Regions from separate parts of the Homo sapiens genome. Here region 1 is linked to region 2. The links are contacts of gene promoters, found by promoter capture Hi-C in human tissues and cell types (Jung and others, 2019). All regions are on one chromosome and are shown on one strand. The core of a region is centred on a gene start or on the middle of the fragment in contact, and the rest is flanking DNA. Distances in the headings are between cores, read along the strand shown.

Region 1 (4,474 bases), core at 1,400-3,899, 42 kb before region 2:
GCGGATCACGAGGTCAGGAGATCGAGACCATCCTGGCTAACACGGTGAAACCCCGTCTCTACTAAAAATACAAAAAATTAGCTGGGCATGGTGACGGGCGCTTGTAGCCCCAGCTACTCGGGAGGCTGAGGCAGGAGAATGGCGTGAACCTGGGAGGCAGAGCTTGCAGTGAGCAGAGATCACGCCACTGCACTCCAGCCTGGGCGACAGAGCGAGACTCCATCTCAAAAAAAAAGAAGAAATACATTGGTTTGGTCCAGAAAGGTGGGACGACTCAAAGGGCGGGGGGTTGGGAGGGTGGGGAGCTTCTAGCCTATAAGTGAATTTAAACGTTTTCTGTTTGACAATTGGTTGAGTTTGTCTAAAGACAAAATTGATTGATAGAAAAGGAATGTTCAGATTAAGATAAAGATTGTGGAGCCCAAAGTTCTTCTGAAGTCTTCTAGTGGCTGCCCTTAGAGACAATAGATGACAAATGTTTCCTATTCAGATTTTAGTTACTCTCTTTAGGATTGGGAGGGTCTGGAAGGAAAAGATCTAGCTATGTTAATAGAGATTCTTTACAGATGCACATTTTCTCCCATAGAGAACAGCTTTGCAAGGTCATTTCAAAATATGGCAAAGAAACATGTTTTGGGGTAAAATGTTTTGATTTTTTTTCCTTGTCTCTTAATGTTATGCCAGAGTCAGGTTGGAAAGTAAATCATGATATATAGGGTTAAATAAAACCCATTTGATGAGAATTTATGATTTGTAGGGCATGACTCCCCAGGCCCCTTAGATAGGAATTTGGGCGAGATAAAAAAAATCAGAGTTTAGTTCTCAGTGCCAGGCAATTCTAAATTCTAGCAAGACAAACTCCAGTAGACTTTAAGCCTTGGGAATAATCCTCTTTGGCTGGACACTCTGCCCTCTGGACCCACTGTGATGGGGGCTGCACCCCCATGGCTCTGCTGGGTGGTGGTCCTGGCCTTCAAAACTGAGGTGGCCGGCCAGGTGCAGTGGCTCATACCTGTAATCCTACCACTTCGGGAAGCCGAGGTGGGCGGATCACCTGAGGTCAGGAGTTTGAGACCAGCCTGACCAACATAGAGAAACCCCATCTGTATTAATAATGCAAAAATAGCTGGGTATGGTGGCGCATGCCTGTAATCCCAGCTACTTGGGAGGCTGAGGCAGGAGAATCGCTTGAACCCAGGAGGTGGAGGTTGTAGTGAACCGAGATTGCGCCATTGCACTCCAGCCAGCCTGGGTGGCAAGAGCAAAACTCCGTCTCAGAAAAAAAGCAACAACAACAAAAAAAACGGAGGTGGCGGCAACCTGGTTCCGGCCTGTGCACTCTGGGCCTGTGGTGGGAGTGGCAGCCTTGATGATTGAATTGTCTTTGAGGTCCTTTTCTTGTCTTTAAGAACACTGCACCTTGAAAATAGCGCTGCCAAGCATGATGGCTGACGCCTTTAATCCCAGTACTTTGAGAGGCTGAGATGGGAGGATTGCTTGAGCCCAGGAGTTCAAGACCAGCCTGGGCAATATAGTGAGACCTCGTCTCCATGATTTTTTTTTTTTAGTTAGCTGGGCATGGTAGCATGCACTTGTAGCCCCAGCTACTCAGGAGGCTGAGGTGGGAGGATTGCTTGAGCCTAGGAGATCAAGGTTGCAGTGAGCTGTGATCACACTACTGCACTCCAGCTTGGGTGGCAGAGTGAGACCCTGTCTCAAAAAAAAAAAAAAAAAAAAAAAAGGCCAGGCGCAGTGGCTCAAGCCTGTAATCCCAGCACTTTGGGAGGCCGAGGCGGGCGGATCACAAGGTCAGGAGATCGAGACCATCCTGGCTAACATGGTGAAACCCCGTCTCTGCTGAACAAAATAGAAAAAGTTAGCCAGGCATGGTGGCGGGCGCCTGTAGTGCCAGCTACTCAGGAGACTGAGGCAGGAATGGCGTGAACCCGGGAGGCAGAGCTTGCAGTGAGCTGAGATCATGCCACTGCACTCCAGCTTGGGTGACAGAGTGAGACTCTGGCTAAAAAATAAAAAAATAAAAAAATAGCTGTAGCAGGGGTGTCCAATCTTTTGCCTTCTCTGGGCCACTTTGGAAGAAGAAAATTGTCTTGGGCCACACATAAAACACACTAATGATAGCTGATGAGCAAAAAAAAAAAAAAAAAAATCTCATAATGTTTTAAGAAAGTTTAAGAATTTGTGTTGGGCCACATTCAAAGCCATCCTGGCCTGAATGTGGGCCGCTGGTCACAGGTTGGACAAGCTTGCTCTATGGCCCAGTCCTGTAGGATCTTAGATGTCCGACAGCCTTCCTTCACTTCATCCCCTTTCTCCCCTCTGGCAGGTGCTAGGGTGACTGATTAGGTCTGTGATTCATACCCATTCTAATCTCCTTACCTCGCAGTTTTTGGACTACTCTCTTAGTATTTACAGTATGGATAGGCTGAGAATTGTCCAGATTTTTAAATTCTAGTTCTTTTTTTGCTTAACAATTCATTTCTCTTTTTTCACTTTTTTTTTTTTTTTTTTGAGACGGAGTTTCGCTCTTGTTGCTCAGGCTGGAGTGCAATGGCATGAGCTCAGCTCACCGCAACCTCCACCTCCCGGGTTCAAGTGATTCTGCTGCCTCAGCCTCCCTAGTAGCTGGGATTACAGGCATGTGCCACCACGCACGGCTAATTTTGTGTTTTTAGTAGAGACGGGGTTTCTCCATGTTGGCCAGGCTGGTCTCGAACTCCCGACATCAGGTGATCTGCCCGCCTTGGCCTCCCAAAGTGCTGGGATTACAGGCGTGAGCCACCGCGCCCGGCCTTTTCACATTTTACTATAAGCAGTTGGCTGGGTGCGGTGGCTCACGCCTGTAATCCCAGCACTTTGGGAGGCCAAGGTAGGCGGATCATGAGGTCAGGAGATCAAGACCATCCTGGCTAACATGGTGAAACCCCATCTCTACTAAAAATACAAAAAGTTAGCCGGGCATGGTGGTGGGCACCTGTAGTCCCAGCTACTCGGGAGGCTAAGGGAGGAGAATGGCGTGAACCAGGGAGGCGGAGCTTGCATTGAGTCGAGATTGGGCTACAAGCAAGACTCTGTCTCACAAAAAAAAAAAAAAAAAAAAAAAGCAGTCAAGAGGATCCAAGCTGCTCCTTCAACACTAAGTATCCCATATATTTCAAGTTTTCCTCTGAATTGCTCAATCTTTTGTTTAATCTCTTTAAGCTCTTTTTTCCTTTAATCTCACTGTGTAATCTTTAAACAGTGTATGTGTTGTTATTCTAATGTCAGTGTCTGATAATTTCAGTATTTTAAGGCAAATTTTTCTCCTTAGCTTCACTGGTTTTCCTTCAAATGTATTAGGGTATAATTGTTTATAATGCTTTTAAATTTTGTTTTGTTTAACATCTAAAGAAATATCCCCCATGGGTACTTCTTTTGTTTTGTTTTGTTTTGGTTTGGTTTGGTTTTTTGAGACGGAGTCTCACTCTGTTGCCCAGGCTGGAGTGCAGTGGCATGATCTTGGCTCACTGCAACCTCTGCCTCCCAGGTTCAAGCGATTCTCCTACCTCAGCCTCCCAAGCAACTTGGGTTACAGGCATGTGCCACCATGCCCAGATAATTTTTTTGGTATTTTTAGTAGACAGGGTTTTGCTATGTTGGCCAGGCTGGCCTTGAACTCCTTACCTCAGGTGATTCACCCACCTTGGCCTCCCAAAGTGCTGGGATTACAGATGTGAGCCACTGCGCCCAGCTGGTATTTCTTTTTTTGTGTGTGTGAGACATACAAGGTCAGTATAGTAAAAAAATCTATTAAACTTCTAATTAAAAATATAATTTCAAAAGACGTTTCCAATAGCATCAAAAACATCAAATACCTAGGAAAGACAAAATTTCTACACAGAAAACTATGAACCATAAACTGTAAAACATACAAACTGTGTATTTATAAAACATATAAACATACAAACTATAAACATTAAAACGTATAAACTGTATGTTCATAAAGCATATAAACTATGTAACTATATAAACTATAAAATACATAAAACATTATTACAAAAAATCATAGCCCTAAATAAATGGAGGCATAGACAGGGCTCATGAATTGGAAGACCATATTTTAAAGATATTGATTCCCCTCAAATTGGTATATGGAATTTGTTAAATTTCAGTTTTAGAAAACTCTTGGCAGGCGCATCTGTGTGGGAGTGTGTGGGAGTGTGTGTGTGTGTGTGCGTGTGCGTGTGTGTGTGTGCGCCTATGGACATTATTATATTTTTTTAATACTGATGGGATCTCCCTATGTTGCCCAGGCTGGTCTTGAACTGCTGGGCTTAAGCAATCCTTCCAACTTGGCCTCCCAGAGTGCTAGGATTATAGGCATGAGCCGCCACACCTGGCCACCTGTGGGTTTTTCTTTTCTTTTCTTTCTTTTTTTTTTTTTTGAGATGGAGTCTTGTCTCTGTCACCCAGGCTG
Region 2 (4,583 bases), core at 1,674-4,173:
CACTGTGCCTGGATGCCTGGCTAATTTTAAAATTCTTTGTAGAGATTGGGTCTCCTTATGTTGCCCAGGTTGGTCTTGAACTCCTGGGCTTAAGCAATCCTCCTGCCTTTGCCTCCCAAAGTGCTGGGAAGAATTACTCTTGAGAGCAAAGCAGGGAAAGATCTAGTAAGCAATATAGATGTTTTTCAACCTAAGAACATGGTTCAAACTCATAAATGATCCTTCTTTTTTTTTTTTTTTTTTTTTGAGACAGAGTCTCGCTCTGTTGCCCAGGCTGGAGAGCAGTGGCGTGATCTCGGCTCACTGCAACCTCCACCTCCCAGGTTCAAGCGATTCTTGTGCCTCACCCTCCTAGGTAGCTGGAATTACAGGCGTGTGCTACCACGCCCGGCTAATTTTTATATTTTTAGTAGAGACGGGGTTTCACCATATTGGCCAGCCTGGTCTCAAACTCCTCGCCTCAAGTGATCAGCCCACCTTGGCCTCCCAAAGTGCTGGGATTACAGGCGTGAGCCACCACACCCGGCTGAAACTCATAAATGATCCTTCTAAAACAACAGATCCTATTATTCTTTCCCTATCCTTCATCCAATTCCAAGAGTCTCATCTAAAGCCTGAGGAGATCTCATTGGCCAGAACTCAATGATCTACTTATTATTCAGTAATAGTTACTGACCACATGCAATATGCCAGGCATGTTAGGCTCTACAGGTACAATAGTGAGCAAAATTGATACTTCCTTACACTCACAGAGCTTAAAAGACATTCAACAAATAATCACACAGATAAATGTAAAATTACAACTGTGATTAAGAACTGCAGAAGAGAACAAATATAGGAAAGCCTATAATATGACAGCAATCTGACTTAAGTGGGATGATTGGAACATTTCCCTAGGGAAGACTTGAAGGAGCTGAGAGCTGAAGGACAAGTAGGAATTAACCAGATGAGTGGAAATGAATGAATGAAAAGTATACTCAATGTACAAAGAAAGAACAATGTATAAAGTTCCTGTATTGTAAAGAAGCAGAGAGAATTCAAAGAATGTTAGTGCAGCCAGGACCCAGAGAGTGAGAAAGGGCCAAACCAGGCTGGGCCTTTCAGGCCATGTTAAGGATTCTGGTCTTCACACTAGAAGAAATAAGAAATTATTAAAGGGCTTTCATTAGGGGTGTTCATGGCTGGGTGCGGATGGCTCATACCTGTAATCTCAGCACTTTGGGAGACCAAGGCGGGTGGATCACCTGAGGTCAGCAGTTTGAGACCAGCCTGGCCAACATGGCGAAACCCCGTCTCTACTAAAAATACAAAAATTAGCCAGGCATGGTGGCGGGCACAAGTAATCCCAGCTACTTGGGAGGCTGAGGCTACTCGGGAGGTTGAGGCAAGAGAATCTCTTGAACCTGGGAGGTAGAGGCTGTGGTGAGCCAAGATGGCATCACTGCACTTCAGCCTGGGTGACAGAGTGAGACTCCGTCAAAAAAAAAAAAAAAAAAAAGGGTGTTCACGTATATCTGTGTAAGACACAGCCAGATTTGAGTTTTGAAAAGATCACTCAGAATGTGATGTGAAGCCTCACTTGTAGGGAGTCAAGACTGGAAATGGGAAACCAATTTAGCAGACCATTGTTCAAGAGAGGACTCATGGTAACACAGATCAGGCAGCTGGTAGAAGCAATGTGAATAGGATAGACTCCAGAGAAGGATTAAGAAGGTAAGCTTGACATGCTTTCCAAATAAATTAGATGTAGAGTCAAGGAAAGGGGAAGAGTCGCTTTGTGCCACTGGATGGAGAGTCGTGCTAGTTACTTCCTTGTGGAACATCTGGTCATCATTCTCTGAATGTCTGCTTTGCCGGCACCATGCTAGAAGTGCTGGAGGAGGACTGGGTTTCCAGGAAATGATCGTGTTGAGTTTAAGGTGCCTTGAGACACCCAAGTACAGATGCAAGGTGCACTCAAAACATTTCTCTTTCTGGGAGTCCTCAAGACTTCACTCACTCCTCAACTAGAATGTAAGCTCCATGAAGGACAGTTTTTGTATTTTGTTCATTGTAAGGTCAGCTGCAGTTCCTCACGTTTGGGCACCTAGCACAGTTTACTGGTTGTATAAAAGAATAAATTTATTTCATCTCTTGCCTGTGTCTGGCTCCTCCCATGCTCACACTGCCCAAGGGAGACAGTGGGCTTCATAAGATCTAAAGCCGCTCAAACTTGTCACAAGAATGGGTCCCCATGCATGGGTAGTGATGGTTCTGATGGTGGTGGTAGGTGTGTTCCAAGGATCTCTGCTTAGAACCAAGAACCAAGTGGCCTAAACTTTAGAAAATAACGTAAAATGTCAACTTAGCCTTCTGTGTTTCAAATCGGCTGTTTGACCTGGCTAATGCATTTCCCCCTAAAATCAAAGGACCTTCTGGAAGACAACCGCTGCTTAAATCAGGGTGTTCCCATATTTTAAAAAGGCGAAAAGGCAGTGCTGGCCGCGAGGTTCCGAAGCCACAGCCATCAAGGGGATCTGGCGCGGTTGACAACTCCCTCCGAGCAAAAGGCCGCGAGGAGCACTCACTGGACACGTCCCGAGCCGCGGCCGGACATTGGCTCAGGGCCTGTGACGCGAGGGTGTCAAGCTCCTCCAGGTCGTCGGCAGTGAAGTCCCCATGCGCGCCGAACGGGTCGTCAGGGTCCGGGGCAGCGGCTGCGGAGAAGCCCCGGGCCCGCTTGCTCGGGGGGTGCCCGGTGCCCGGCGGCGGGCCGGGGCGAGGCGCCGGGGGCTCGCTCCGCCTCTTGCTGCCTGGCGCGGAGGTCCCCGCCATGCTTTCCGCTCACCCCAAGTATCCGACAGCGCCGAGCTAGACTTGCCTGCCGCCAGGCCGGAGAACTGGACCAACCGTCCGCGCGCCGCCGCTTGCCTCCGCCGCGAGTGCCCCGCCCCTGGCCCAGGGGCCAATCAGCTGGCAGGCGGAGGGCGCGGAGGAATGACGAACGTCCGAGCGCGCCGCCACACCCGGCCCCGCCCGGTGTTTAGAGGTCCACGGGCGGGATTCGGCAGGTTTGCTGCAAGGACTCAGTGCGGCGCGACCCGTTACCGGAGAGGCGGGCCGGAGGCGCACCAGCTCCGCCGCGCTGGTGGCTTTGCGCTCCCTCCCTGGCATTCCGTGGAGGAGGGCCGCGCAGGAGCAGCCTGCCCTAGCATTCACGCGTGTTGCGTTTGAGTCGAGCCAGGCATCATTCAGGGATGTGGTCTCCGTGACCTCGCTTTCCTTCTGCCGCCAGACCCACCTCCCACAAACCCCTAGGCTTTCTTGAGGAGAGTGGAATTTGTTGGGTGAGGAGTATGAATAGAGCTGTCGTGTGCAGACATCTTCGGGTTTAGTGAATGTTTCACATGTGTACATTTGAGGTAGGCCCAGGGAGGAGGAAAGTCCAAGGAGGAATGATGTTTGGAGCTGTTCTTGTGTGGGAGGGGGTGGGAGCTGCTCAGGCTGTTAACATCCATTCCTCTGAGTGCTGGACTGTTTTTTTTTCCTAAGCTCTGGTTGTATAGAATAGGGCTCAGGAGGTCAAGGAAGTCCCCCTGTAAATGGCACCTGCGCTGTCCTACAAGTTGAGTCAAGTTAGCAGGATAGAGGGGTAGGAGGCTGGCACATAAGACTAACACGAGAATTCTACATTGAAAGGGAGGCCACACAAAGGCCAGGTAAGAGTTACCGGTGGCGAACAGAGGTAAAGCTTCACAAAGGAGCAGCAATTTGAGGTGGGCTTGCGTGCCTGACAGATTTTATTGGGCAGCTGTGGTGTGCAGAAGTTAGCCGCAATAGAGAATTTGGCAATGGAGAGTAACAGGAGCAAGACTCTTTCAGCCTTACCTGCTCAGTGCCAAACTTCACCTGTGAGTGTCCTAGGAATATTTGTGAAAGCATTAAATGAAAAGAGTAAATGAAAAAGAGAGTGCTATCAGGGCCTATAATGTCTAAGGAGTTTAAAATTTTTTGGAGCAACTGGTAGTCTCCGTCAGATAGCTTCCCAAGTGTTGCATGCTTAATTGCTGCAGGACTCTGGTCCTGGAAAGAGACAGGACTGTTCATTTGTTAAAGAGGGATAGGTTCCACCAAGTAACTTGCTTTCAGGAACAGTGTGAATCACTGGTGCTCAGGTTTGTTTTAGCAGCATACGGCTGGGTGCCAGCTAGCAAGGCCCCACAGGGAATGCCTGAAGCCTACTGAAGGGTGCTACTGGCTGTGCAACTTTCTGGAGAGGACCAACACAGGCTTCCCCCTGCCCCCTCTCCCGCGTTAATATCTAGTACATTAATCATGAAAGTTTTCAATATTCTAAAACCTAGTTTTGATTTAGCAGTCTCATAATGGTTCCAGAGCGCTCTTCGACAATATTCTCAGAGAAAGCTGAGCATTATTAACATAATTGTATTAAGGGCCTGGGAGGGAAATCCAAATACTTGTGCTTCTGAATTAATTTTTTTTTTTTAAATACAGGGTCTTGTTCTGTCTCCCAGGCTGGAGTGCAGTGGTGTGATCTTGGCTCACTGCAGCCTCGAACTCCTGGGCTCAAGTGATCCTCCCAC

Evidence for each region. Contacts are between HindIII fragments. The study calls those that stand out against the background at their distance.
Region 1: a contact is called between a fragment that was not itself captured here and the fragment with the promoter of ATRIP in region 2, in 1 of the 25 tissues and cell types used here (aorta).

Annotation. Positions count from the first base shown.
Region 1 is chr3:48,486,889-48,491,362 of GRCh38, reverse strand. All of the region lies in intron 2 of SHISA5 (shisa family member 5), which reads left to right. Among named protein-coding and RNA genes, the nearest start is that of SHISA5, 15 kb to the left of the region's middle. The HindIII fragment of the contact is 5,851 bases long and covers 1-4,474 here.
Region 2 is chr3:48,445,077-48,449,659 of GRCh38, reverse strand. ATRIP (ATR interacting protein) reads right to left here and starts at 2,923. Exons shown (of 13, transcript NM_130384.3): 1 at 2,568-2,923. The coding sequence starts at 2,814. ATRIP-TREX1 (ATRIP-TREX1 readthrough) reads right to left here and starts at 2,881. Exons shown (of 15, transcript NR_153405.1): 1 at 2,568-2,881. It also overlaps a transcript of CCDC51 not described here. RefSeq lists a silencer at 2,619-2,978. The HindIII fragment of the contact is 4,147 bases long and covers 2,725-4,583 here.